Regions from separate parts of the Homo sapiens genome. Here all the other regions are linked to region 1. Evidence: promoter capture Hi-C in 16 types of primary human blood cells and fetal thymus (Javierre and others, 2016). All regions are on one chromosome and are shown on one strand. Each heading gives the region's core, a stretch centred on a gene start or on the middle of the fragment in contact. The rest is flanking DNA. Distances are from core to core; before and after follow the strand shown. Region 1 holds the start of G6PD (glucose-6-phosphate dehydrogenase). Region 2 overlaps ARHGAP4 (Rho GTPase activating protein 4). Region 3 holds the start of PLXNB3 (plexin B3). Region 4 overlaps MECP2 (methyl-CpG binding protein 2).

What was found. Contacts are between HindIII fragments. The CHiCAGO score rates a contact against its expected background, and 5 or more counts as called.
Region 2: a contact is called between a fragment that was not itself captured here and the fragment with the promoter of G6PD in region 1, in 5 of 17 cell types (total B cells, total CD8 T cells, non-activated CD4 T cells and 2 more). The highest score is 10.1, in total B cells.
Region 3: a contact is called between the fragment with the promoter of PLXNB3 here and the fragment with the promoter of G6PD in region 1, in 1 of 17 cell types (total CD8 T cells). The highest score is 9.6, in total CD8 T cells.
Region 4: a contact is called between a fragment that was not itself captured here and the fragment with the promoter of G6PD in region 1, in 5 of 17 cell types (naive CD8 T cells, total CD4 T cells, activated CD4 T cells and 2 more). The highest score is 7.6, in naive CD8 T cells.

Annotation. Positions count from the first base shown.
Region 1 is chrX:154,545,396-154,548,095 of GRCh38, reverse strand. G6PD (glucose-6-phosphate dehydrogenase) reads left to right here and starts at 1,250. Exons shown (of 13, transcript NM_001360016.2): 1 at 1,250-1,307; 2 at 1,933-2,060. The coding sequence starts at 1,941. IKBKG (inhibitor of nuclear factor kappa B kinase regulatory subunit gamma) reads right to left here and starts at 476. Exons shown (of 10, transcript NM_001099857.5): 1 at 351-476. RefSeq lists enhancers at 89-368, 1,671-2,214 and a silencer at 809-1,368. The HindIII fragment of the contact is 7,888 bases long and covers 1-2,700 here.
Region 2 is chrX:153,922,023-153,924,722 of GRCh38, reverse strand. All of the region lies in intron 1 of ARHGAP4 (Rho GTPase activating protein 4), which reads left to right. Among named protein-coding and RNA genes, the nearest start is that of ARHGAP4, 2.9 kb to the left of the region's middle. RefSeq lists enhancers at 163-292, 799-1,299. The HindIII fragment of the contact is 3,334 bases long and covers 1-2,700 here.
Region 3 is chrX:153,762,989-153,765,688 of GRCh38, reverse strand. PLXNB3 (plexin B3) reads right to left here and starts at 1,440. Exons shown (of 36, transcript NM_005393.3): 1 at 1,385-1,440; 2 at 109-218. The coding sequence starts at 153. It overlaps PLXNB3-AS1 (PLXNB3 antisense RNA 1), which reads left to right. Exons shown (of 3, transcript NR_199696.1): 2 at 1,840-1,979. The HindIII fragment of the contact is 7,823 bases long and covers 1-2,396 here.
Region 4 is chrX:154,029,820-154,032,519 of GRCh38, reverse strand. MECP2 (methyl-CpG binding protein 2) reads left to right here. Exons shown (of 3, transcript NM_001110792.2): 2 at 1-313; 3 at 1,070-2,700. The coding sequence ends at 2,153. Among named protein-coding and RNA genes, the nearest start is that of MIR718, 11 kb to the right of the region's middle. RefSeq lists an enhancer at 1-82. The HindIII fragment of the contact is 1,982 bases long and covers 260-2,241 here.

The DNA of each region.
Region 1 (2,700 bases), core at 1-2,500:
AGATACCTAGCTGCCAAACTATATGTGAGGCATTTCCGAAGAATTTAACGACCTCGATAGAGCGCAGTCAAGTTTGGTGAACAGAATATGTCTCTGAACTAGAGGAGTCCTCACACAAGGAGTAGGGTCAGACCCCGCAGTGGAGGAGGAGGGAGGAGTAGAAACAGTCCAGCTCGCCGCCCAAGTAACCTGGGTCCTGAATCGGCCCGCCTTGGCCAGTGCTCCAGAAGCGCGGAGCAGGAACGGGCTGGGGCCCAAAAAAGAGGGGGGAGCCTGAACGTCCGGGGGAAGTTTCGGAGGCGGCGGAACGCCCACGGATGGAACCCTGTCTTTGGGGAAAAGGACCACACCTGTCAGCAGAGTCCGTCAGACGTGAGAAGGGTGGGAGCGGCGGACTGTGAACGCTGGTAGGGCCCCGGCGCTCCGAGAAAGTCCCAGTTTCGCGGTCGCCCTTCCCTACCACGCTTCCGGCTTCCGGTGTCATAGCTGTGGGATCCGGAAGTAAAAACACAAGCCCCGCCCCCGAGAACTCGGGAAGCCGGCGAGAAGTGTGAGGCCGCGGTAGGGCCGCATCCCGCTCCGGAGAGAAGTCTGAGTCCGCCAGGCTCTGCAGGCCCGCGGAAGCTCGGTAATGATAAGCACGCCGGCCACTTTGCAGGGCGTCACCGCCTACACGCCCCCTCGTCTCTCGGACGGCGGCGTCTAGCCTCGGGGCGCTCGGCCGCCCCGCCCTCTCCGGGGGAGGAATCAAGAAGAGACTGCCCAATAGGGCCGGCTTGACCCGCGAACAGGCGAGGGTTCCCGGGGGAGTGGCGCGGCAGAAGGCCCCGCCCAGGAGCCGAGGGACAGCCCAGAGGAGGCGTGGCCACGCTGCCGGCGGAAGTGGAGCCCTCCGCGAGCGCGCGAGGCCGCCGGGGCAGGCGGGGAAACCGGACAGTAGGGGCGGGGCCGGGCCGGCGATGGGGATGCGGGAGCACTACGCGGAGCTGCACCCGTGCCCGCCGGAATTGGGGATGCAGAGCAGCGGCAGCGGGTATGGCAGGCAGCCGGCGGGCCGGCCTCCAGCGCAGGTGCCCGAGAGGCAGGGGCTGGCCTGGGATGCGCGCGCACCTGCCCTCGCCCCGCCCCGCCCGCACGAGGGGTGGTGGCCGAGGCCCCGCCCCGCACGCCTCGCCTGAGGCGGGTCCGCTCAGCCCAGGCGCCCGCCCCCGCCCCCGCCGATTAAATGGGCCGGCGGGGCTCAGCCCCCGGAAACGGTCGTACACTTCGGGGCTGCGAGCGCGGAGGGCGACGACGACGAAGCGCAGGTAACCGGCCGGGCGGGCGCCGCGCAGGCGGAGGAGCGTACTGTCCCGCGCTGCGCCGCGCGGCGGTAAAATACACGCTGTTTGTTGTGCTTGAGAACCGAGCAGAATCGAGAGGGTCTTAACCAATCCCTTTATACCCCGCACCTCCTCTCTTGAGCCCCTGAGACCCCGAGAGCGAAGGGGACTTGCCGACCGGGGTCACCCAGCTTGGCAAGGGGAGGGCTGGAGCTGAACTCCAGCATCTGCACCATCTCCCATGCTCCAGGTCATTGTGGAGTTCCCGCTACAGTCGGGAATGAGATGGTCCTGGGCACGCAGTTCCATGCCCCACAAGGATTTTACTCGGTTGTCCAGAATTGATGCTGTAGTCGGAATACACCAATGCTTTGAGTAATTTTGTAATGTACACCCTGAATGAAGGCTGCCTAGGAGAGAGTGGCTGGAGCCCAGAGCCAGCAGTTTCTAACCCATCAACCACTCCCCAATGCCCAGCCGTTCACAAGGAGTGATTTGGGCAATCAGGTGTCACCCTGGTGTGAGACCCCAGAGGAACTCTCAAGAAAGGGGCTAACTTCTCAATGCTCTCCTGTTCTTCTGCCTTGTTAACGAGCCTTTCTTCCACCAGACAGCGTCATGGCAGAGCAGGTGGCCCTGAGCCGGACCCAGGTGTGCGGGATCCTGCGGGAAGAGCTTTTCCAGGGCGATGCCTTCCATCAGTCGGATACACACATATTCATCATCATGGGTGCATCGGTGAGTATCTCCCAGGCCCCAATCTTAAAAGCCAGGAAGTGCCTGCTCCATGCCTCAGCTTTTCCAACTAATTGTTGCAGGGCCCCACAGGCTCTGCTAAGTTGAGCTCCTCCTCCCGCTCCTGCTAGTGCGCCAGGATCATCCCGGCTCTACCTGGTGTGCATATGCACTTGCAAGACTTTTTTTTTTTTTTTTTTTTGGAGACGGAGTTTTGCTCTGGTCGCCCAGGATGGGGTGCAGTGGCGCCATCTTGGCTCACTGCAACCTCGGCCTCCTGGGTTCAAGCGATTCTCCTGCCTCAGCCCCCCAAGTAGCTGAGATTACAGGCATGCACCACCACACCCGGCTAATTTTTGTATTGTTAGTAGAGACGGAGTTTCACCATGTTGACCAGGCTGGTCTCAAACTCCTGACCTCAAGTGATCCGCCCGCCTCGGCCTCCCAAAGTGCTGGGATGACAGGCATGAGCCACCACGCCCGGCTGCAGGACGTTTCTGAACCCTGTGCCTAGCCGCTGAATGTAGCCCTTAATCCTGGAGTTGCAGGCTCTTTAGGGACTGTCTAGATGGACTTCTTGGGGAAAACAGGGAATGCTATTCATTCTGTAGTTTTTTCAGACCTGTTCATGCCTTAACAAATG
Region 2 (2,700 bases), core at 198-2,697, 620 kb after region 1:
CATCTGTGCTGTCCCAGGCCCTGGGAGTATACTGCTGTACCAGAGAGAACCCCGACTCCAGCCCCTCCAGCCCTGGCTTTTTACCCAGAGTAAAAGCAATGATTCAATGAGGACTCCCCTGATTTCAAATGGCGTCAGTGGCCACCCCGCCCTCACATGGCTCACGGGTCTAGTGGGGGAGACATAGACTTTGCATTATGATAATAAGCACTACAAAGGGAAGGAAAGTGCACGGTGCCAAGAAGGGGTCGGAAGAGGGCCAGCCCTAGTTTAGGGGGAGGTCAGGACAGGGTGTGCTGACGAGTTTGTCTGAACTGAGATCCGAAAGCTCTGCCAGGAAAGCCACCAATGCAATCGACTTGCAATTCACAAGTTGCCTGCTCAACACCAGCCGGTGTGCATGCCCGGATCTGGACTAGGACATGGCTTCCAGTCAGCTTTTGCTGCCGGCAGTGATGAAGAAAGGCAGCGGTTCCCTCTGCTGGTTCCTTCTGCACTGTTCAGTTGTCATAAGTCCCCAGGGATTGTATTCCTCTGGGGGAAGCAGGGCAGGGCAGGCTCCAGAGGGCCAGTGAGGCGAGCAGTTGTCTAACACCTTTCTTGGAATGAAATGAAATTTACTTTTATCAAAAAATGTTAAACTGGGCCAGGCGTGGTGGCTCACGTCTGTAATCCCAGCACTTTGGGAGGCCGAGGCGGGCGGATCACCTGAGGTCAGGAGTTCAAGACCCAGTCTGGCCAACATGATGAAACCCTGTCTCTACTAAAAATACAAAAATTAGCTGGGTGTGGTGGTGCGCCCCTGTAGTCCCAGCTACTCGGGAGGCTGAGGCGGGAGAATCGCTTGAACCCGGGAGGCGGAGGTTGCAGTGAGCCGAGATCGCACCACTGTACTCCAGCCTGGGCAACATCCTCCGTCTCAAAACAAAAAATCAAAACAAAACGTTAAACTGATTCAGTGAGGACTCTCCTGATTTCAAATGGCATTAGCGCCCACCCCACCTGGCCTTGGAGCTGACGAGTTAACCACAGGAGGCCAGCCTCGGATAGGATGAAGACACTCTCCATCTGTCTCACTTGGCATCGTGGGCTCTGCCCTGCTCTGTCGGGAGGTCCCGTGCCCCAGGCTTCCACTTACCCAGCTTGATCTGCCGGTGGGAAGAGCTCTCCTGTTCAGTAATTCAATTGGAAGGGTCAGGCTCCTGGGTCCCTCACCTGGCTAGTCTGGTGGGGGCAGGGAGTGGAGGGACAGAGGGATGGGTGACGCATGCAGCCAGGGCTGGGGCACCTGGAGTCAAGGGGGCTGAGACTAGGAAGGGGACATTCTCCAATAGGAGATCAGGGGAGGAGGTAGGGATGCTGGGCAGGCGGAACCCACAGGGTCCCCATGCAACAGCCCCTGGGAAGTCACTGGCGGGACAGAAATCCAATGGGATTGAGCTCTTCTCAGCGGAGTCCTCCCTCGCTGCTGCTGGTCTGAATCCTGCCGTCTTTTGCCTGGACTAGCACAGTAGCTGCCACCTGGGCTCCACCTGGCAGTGTGAGGGGGCCCTGAAAACGAAGCTGGACCACATCACCCCACTACTGTGGCTCCTCTCTCACTCGGAGTCCAGCTGGGAGCTCTGCCCAGACCCCGGGCTCTGTGCCATCTGTCCCTACCGGTCTCTCGGACTCCCCCTACTGCCCACGTACAGCCAGCTCCAGCCTTCTGCTCCAACGATGCGGCTTGTTCTTGACCACCCTCCTTTAAAAAGAGGTCCTCCCTGTCCCCACCCACCCCTGGCTCTGATCTTGCTTTGTGGGTTCATCTTCTCCGCACCCATCACTCCTGGGCATTCTGATATGTGTTCGTGCCCCATTCCAATCCCAGCTCCAAGAGGGCAGACACTTGGTCAAACCTCTTTGCCTTTGTATTTAAAACGTGCCTGCCACAGAATGGGTGCATAATCAACATTCTGCTGAATGAAGACATCAATTCATGTCCCTCCCTGGGGATGTGGATGGAGATGAGTAGGTGGGCAGCCTGCTGGCCAGAAGCTGAGCTAGCATCTTATTTACTCGGGACGGGCACTCAGGAGATGGCAAAAGTGTCTTCCGCAGGTTGCTTAAACTTGCTGGACAGGCACTTCTTTGCTTCAGGCCTGTGTGGGGGAAGCAGCGTTGCCAAATCAAGCCAGTGATAGGGTGTCAAAAGGCCGGCAGTATGGGGCCCTGGGTGTGACTCTCTCTGCAGGGTGGGGGAATGCACAGGTGGGGCGGGGGGTGATTGGGAGTGGGAAGTGGGGTCAGAAGACGGGGGCTAGCTCCCTGCCCCATTCTTTCACTTACAAGGCCGGATCAGCTCTCCCTGGCTCCCAGCCCTCACTGTGGACTGTCCTTTCCCCTGGGGCCTGAGGGCAGGCTTCCCCAGCCACTGAGACTGCGAGATCGCTGCAGGCTTGCCCTGAGCAGCACTGTGATCTGTGTGTTGTGTATCCGTGTGTTTGCAAGGGAGGCTGCCACCTCCCGGAGCCTGGGTACCGGCGGGAAAGGAAGTCGCAGGGGAAACCATTCAGAGGCTTTCCAGGAACGAGGGAGAGACAGGAAGCCAAACTGAAAGGTGCCTGGCTGGCGCTGGGGCGGCTCTCCCCTCTCTCTGGGACACCCTTCCCCTTCCCCCTCAACCGGGTGGCTCTGGCCATCTGTTGGCCTCAGCGCAGA
Region 3 (2,700 bases), core at 191-2,690, 780 kb after region 1:
GCCATGAGGGAGGCTGCAGCCTGTATGTCCTGGGCCTGGCCACAGCCATCCTGCCCTACCCTGCCCCTCCCAGGAACATTTCTGGGGACACCGGGCCTGGGCACTTACCATGAAGTGGTGCAGCAGAGGGGTCTCCTGGGCGGCGTGGCACATACGCTCAGTTCAGCTGCCCCAGGGCAGTGGCGATGGGCATGAGATGGCTGCGGGGGGGCATTGTCCTGAGTGGGAGGGAGACAGTCGAGGCTCAGCCCCATTCGAGCTGGCCTGGGGAAGGAGGGGCGGCGGTGGGGGTGGCGCCCAGGGCCTAGCGACCGGGCTCCCTCACAGCTGGCAGCTTTGTCAATAGTGGCCAGGCCAAGGCAGCCCTGCCTCCACCACAACAATGTTCCCTCTGTCCAGAGGCCAGGCCAGGGCCCCACTCGCTAGTGCTGTCACCCCCACTGGGCTGTTCTGGACAGGGGGCTCCTTGCCACTTCCCACCCTCAGGGAGCCACCCCCGGGATCCGGGGACAAAGGGCCGGGGTTTCCTCCAGCCAGCCCTCCCCCTCTGGCCCTGCAACCCCTGTGTCACTAAGCATGCCCCTCCCTGGCTCCCCGGGTCCCTGTGAAGGGCACGGGGTGGACCTTGGAGCCCCTGCAAATGCCGGCTGGTAGCCTTGGGGCCTGGGTGAAGTGCCAGTCCTGGCCCTCAATGCCTGCCTTTGTCCAAAAGATCTTCCTCCACACCCCCAGCCCAGCCCTGCCCCTGGGGACTGGTGAAGTGGTGCCAGGTACAGCATGGTGGCAGCGAGCAGGACCACGGGAGGAGGCTGCTTGAGATGGGCTGAGGCAGAGGGTCCACAGGCCGGGGCTGTCCACCCCACCCTCTGAAGCACCGTCCTGCTGGCCTAGATGCCATCCATGCAGGGGATGGGGAAGGGAGGGGCACCTAGCAGCTAGACCCCCTGTCACCCTCACAGGCCACCCTGGCCAGTGGCACAGGAGCAGGTGCACTGGGGATGGGGTCTCTGCCTCCCCCACAGCACGGCAGCAGTAGGCTCCAGGGCAAGGTGGCAGTGGGCTGCTGTCACCTGGCTGGGCCAGTTGGGTGGCTGTGGGGGTGGGGAGCCAGGCGGGCAGCCTCTCTACCCTGTACCCTGCCCGAGGCTGGCGTTGGCTTTCCCATTTCGGGGAAGAAACATGGTTCCCCACCTCCTAACCCCAGGGCTACCACTTGGGGGACACCGTGCTCCCAGACACCTAGTGCCGTCGTCAGGCTGGGCCGACACCCGAGCGCTCTTGCCTGACCCCAGCCAGTTGGCCCTGAGACCCTGATGCCTTGCCCTGAGGCTGGTAGCCCCTGCACCCCAAGCCCAAGCCCAAGCCTGCCCCAGCTCTTGCCTACCTGGTGGGCCACCGGCGAGGGCCAAGTAGCAGCTGGCGGTGCCAGGAGCACGTCTCACAGAGCCCCAGCCTCCCTCCCCACAATGCAATCGTGCCCAGTCCGACTCATCCCAACAAGCCCGGCCAGGCAGCCCAGCCTCTCTCCGCCCGCCCCTTTGCCCAATGGCACAGGGCAGGATGTTGCTGCCCTCTGCTGGCCGCAGCGGGCATGATGGAGTACTGACCGTGGGCACCTGGCAGGTGAGAGACGGCAGCGCCCTCCTATTGGGTGGGCATTCCATAACCTGGCACGAAGCACCTACTGGATGCCAGGCTTGGGCTTGGCACTGGCACCATCCAGAAACAAACACAGGTTGGGAAACTGAGGCACAGGAGGTTAGGAAACTTGAATAAAGTCACACAGCTAGTATGTGGCAAGGCTGAGTCAATCACAGGGCCCCTTCACTTAACCGTCAGGCTACATGACCTTGAACCATGAACCTTGGCAGGCGTTGGGCAGGAGATGGAGCTGAGGCCTACCCCAGGCCAGGCCTGGACGTGACATGCCCACGTGGCGTTGAGGAAAAACCAGTGTTTCCCACCGACTGGAACACAAGGTTGGTCAAGGGCCGTCTCCCAGGGTGTGGCGGAGGTCAGCAAATCAGGTGGGGTCTTTGTGGCCAGGCTTGAGAACTTGAACTTGTCTCGCCATGGGCAACTGCAAGCTGGTGGCACTGGGGCAGAGAATGTGGGGAGGCCTGGTCCAGTGGTGGTCATGGGCATGGAGAGAGGCGGGCGCGTTCTAGAGGCGCTCTGGGGAGGCAGCATTCTGAAGACTGTGCGTTGGACCCAGGGCAGGAGGCGAAGGCAGGAGAATCCAGGCGACCCTGGGGCTTTTCTGCTGGGGCACTGTTCCCCCTGTGGCAGGGCCATCCACAGAGGGGCTGGCGGAAGTGGGAGGACGGTAAGACTGAGGGGCCCATGAGGGAGGAGGAAATGGTGATGGGGCTGGGGAGGCCTGGGGGTGAGAAGCTTGGCTCAGGTGGCTGGAGCCCTGGGGGCGGCCAGGGTATAGGGCCAGGTGTTGGCCCTGGAGCTCAAAGGCCCAGCAGACTCGGGGTATGGGTGCTTCCCTGAGCAGCTGTGTCATTCTTTCCAACCTGCATGGAGAGAAATGGGGCACAGAGGTGGGTAACTTGCCCAGGGCCATGACCTGACGTCGTTTCTTCAGAGTGCATTCCACAGAGATGGGATTTGAACCTGGGCATTCTGGCACGGGCCACGCTCTGGACCACTGGGCCCCAGATCCACAGCTTCTCACCTGCAGCCGCTGAGGAT
Region 4 (2,700 bases), core at 1-2,500, 520 kb after region 1:
AGGACAAACCCCTCAAGTTTAAAAAGGTGAAGAAAGATAAGAAAGAAGAGAAAGAGGGCAAGCATGAGCCCGTGCAGCCATCAGCCCACCACTCTGCTGAGCCCGCAGAGGCAGGCAAAGCAGAGACATCAGAAGGGTCAGGCTCCGCCCCGGCTGTGCCGGAAGCTTCTGCCTCCCCCAAACAGCGGCGCTCCATCATCCGTGACCGGGGACCCATGTATGATGACCCCACCCTGCCTGAAGGCTGGACACGGAAGCTTAAGCAAAGGAAATCTGGCCGCTCTGCTGGGAAGTATGATGTGTATTTGATCAAGTAAGTAAGAGCAACTCCTATCTCTACAGGGCAGGGAGGGCAGGGACAAGGATCCCTCATGGAGCAGGAAAATGTATGTGCCCAGGGTGGGGTCGGGGGGAACATAAACAATGAACACTGAGACCAGGTGTGCTTGAAATGACCGTGTACAGAGGTCGCTGCCCTGAGTGGGAAGTTCTCAAGGTAGCAGGCCCTCTATCCTCTCCACACCTCAAGTCTTTATCTGGGGATGGAATAGCTGCGGAAGCAGAGGAACTTGCAGAGCTAGGGGTTCAGAGGGGTGAAGAAGCATGTTTCAGTTCTGCCTTTTAAATGATCCCAAAAAGGTTAGCAGTTTTCAAATGACATTTGCAGACAGCCTCATTTAATTCCATGAGAAGGGTGAGCAAAGGATTATCTTGTTGAAACTGATTCCTGGAGAGACTGAGCACCGTACCTGAGTTCAAACTTGGGAATGTTCTAGATGGTGACTCAGGCCCAGGCACCAACCAGCAGAATGGGCCTCAGCCTGACAACCCTTCTGTACCAGGCCTGACTCTTTGGTTGCTGAACTTTGGAGAGGCCTGGGGGGGTCAGCGGCAGGCAGACGAGTGAGTGGCTTTGGTGACAGGTCCTCAGGGGCAGCCAGGCAGTGTGACTCTCGTTCAATAGTAACGTTTGTCAGAGCGTTGTCACCACCATCCGCTCTGCCCTATCTCTGACATTGCTATGGAGAGCCTCTAATTGTTCCTTGTGTCTTTCTGTTTGTCCCCACAGTCCCCAGGGAAAAGCCTTTCGCTCTAAAGTGGAGTTGATTGCGTACTTCGAAAAGGTAGGCGACACATCCCTGGACCCTAATGATTTTGACTTCACGGTAACTGGGAGAGGGAGCCCCTCCCGGCGAGAGCAGAAACCACCTAAGAAGCCCAAATCTCCCAAAGCTCCAGGAACTGGCAGAGGCCGGGGACGCCCCAAAGGGAGCGGCACCACGAGACCCAAGGCGGCCACGTCAGAGGGTGTGCAGGTGAAAAGGGTCCTGGAGAAAAGTCCTGGGAAGCTCCTTGTCAAGATGCCTTTTCAAACTTCGCCAGGGGGCAAGGCTGAGGGGGGTGGGGCCACCACATCCACCCAGGTCATGGTGATCAAACGCCCCGGCAGGAAGCGAAAAGCTGAGGCCGACCCTCAGGCCATTCCCAAGAAACGGGGCCGAAAGCCGGGGAGTGTGGTGGCAGCCGCTGCCGCCGAGGCCAAAAAGAAAGCCGTGAAGGAGTCTTCTATCCGATCTGTGCAGGAGACCGTACTCCCCATCAAGAAGCGCAAGACCCGGGAGACGGTCAGCATCGAGGTCAAGGAAGTGGTGAAGCCCCTGCTGGTGTCCACCCTCGGTGAGAAGAGCGGGAAAGGACTGAAGACCTGTAAGAGCCCTGGGCGGAAAAGCAAGGAGAGCAGCCCCAAGGGGCGCAGCAGCAGCGCCTCCTCACCCCCCAAGAAGGAGCACCACCACCATCACCACCACTCAGAGTCCCCAAAGGCCCCCGTGCCACTGCTCCCACCCCTGCCCCCACCTCCACCTGAGCCCGAGAGCTCCGAGGACCCCACCAGCCCCCCTGAGCCCCAGGACTTGAGCAGCAGCGTCTGCAAAGAGGAGAAGATGCCCAGAGGAGGCTCACTGGAGAGCGACGGCTGCCCCAAGGAGCCAGCTAAGACTCAGCCCGCGGTTGCCACCGCCGCCACGGCCGCAGAAAAGTACAAACACCGAGGGGAGGGAGAGCGCAAAGACATTGTTTCATCCTCCATGCCAAGGCCAAACAGAGAGGAGCCTGTGGACAGCCGGACGCCCGTGACCGAGAGAGTTAGCTGACTTTACACGGAGCGGATTGCAAAGCAAACCAACAAGAATAAAGGCAGCTGTTGTCTCTTCTCCTTATGGGTAGGGCTCTGACAAAGCTTCCCGATTAACTGAAATAAAAAATATTTTTTTTTCTTTCAGTAAACTTAGAGTTTCGTGGCTTCAGGGTGGGAGTAGTTGGAGCATTGGGGATGTTTTTCTTACCGACAAGCACAGTCAGGTTGAAGACCTAACCAGGGCCAGAAGTAGCTTTGCACTTTTCTAAACTAGGCTCCTTCAACAAGGCTTGCTGCAGATACTACTGACCAGACAAGCTGTTGACCAGGCACCTCCCCTCCCGCCCAAACCTTTCCCCCATGTGGTCGTTAGAGACAGAGCGACAGAGCAGTTGAGAGGACACTCCCGTTTTCGGTGCCATCAGTGCCCCGTCTACAGCTCCCCCAGCTCCCCCCACCTCCCCCACTCCCAACCACGTTGGGACAGGGAGGTGTGAGGCAGGAGAGACAGTTGGATTCTTTAGAGAAGATGGATATGACCAGTGGCTATGGCCTGTGCGATC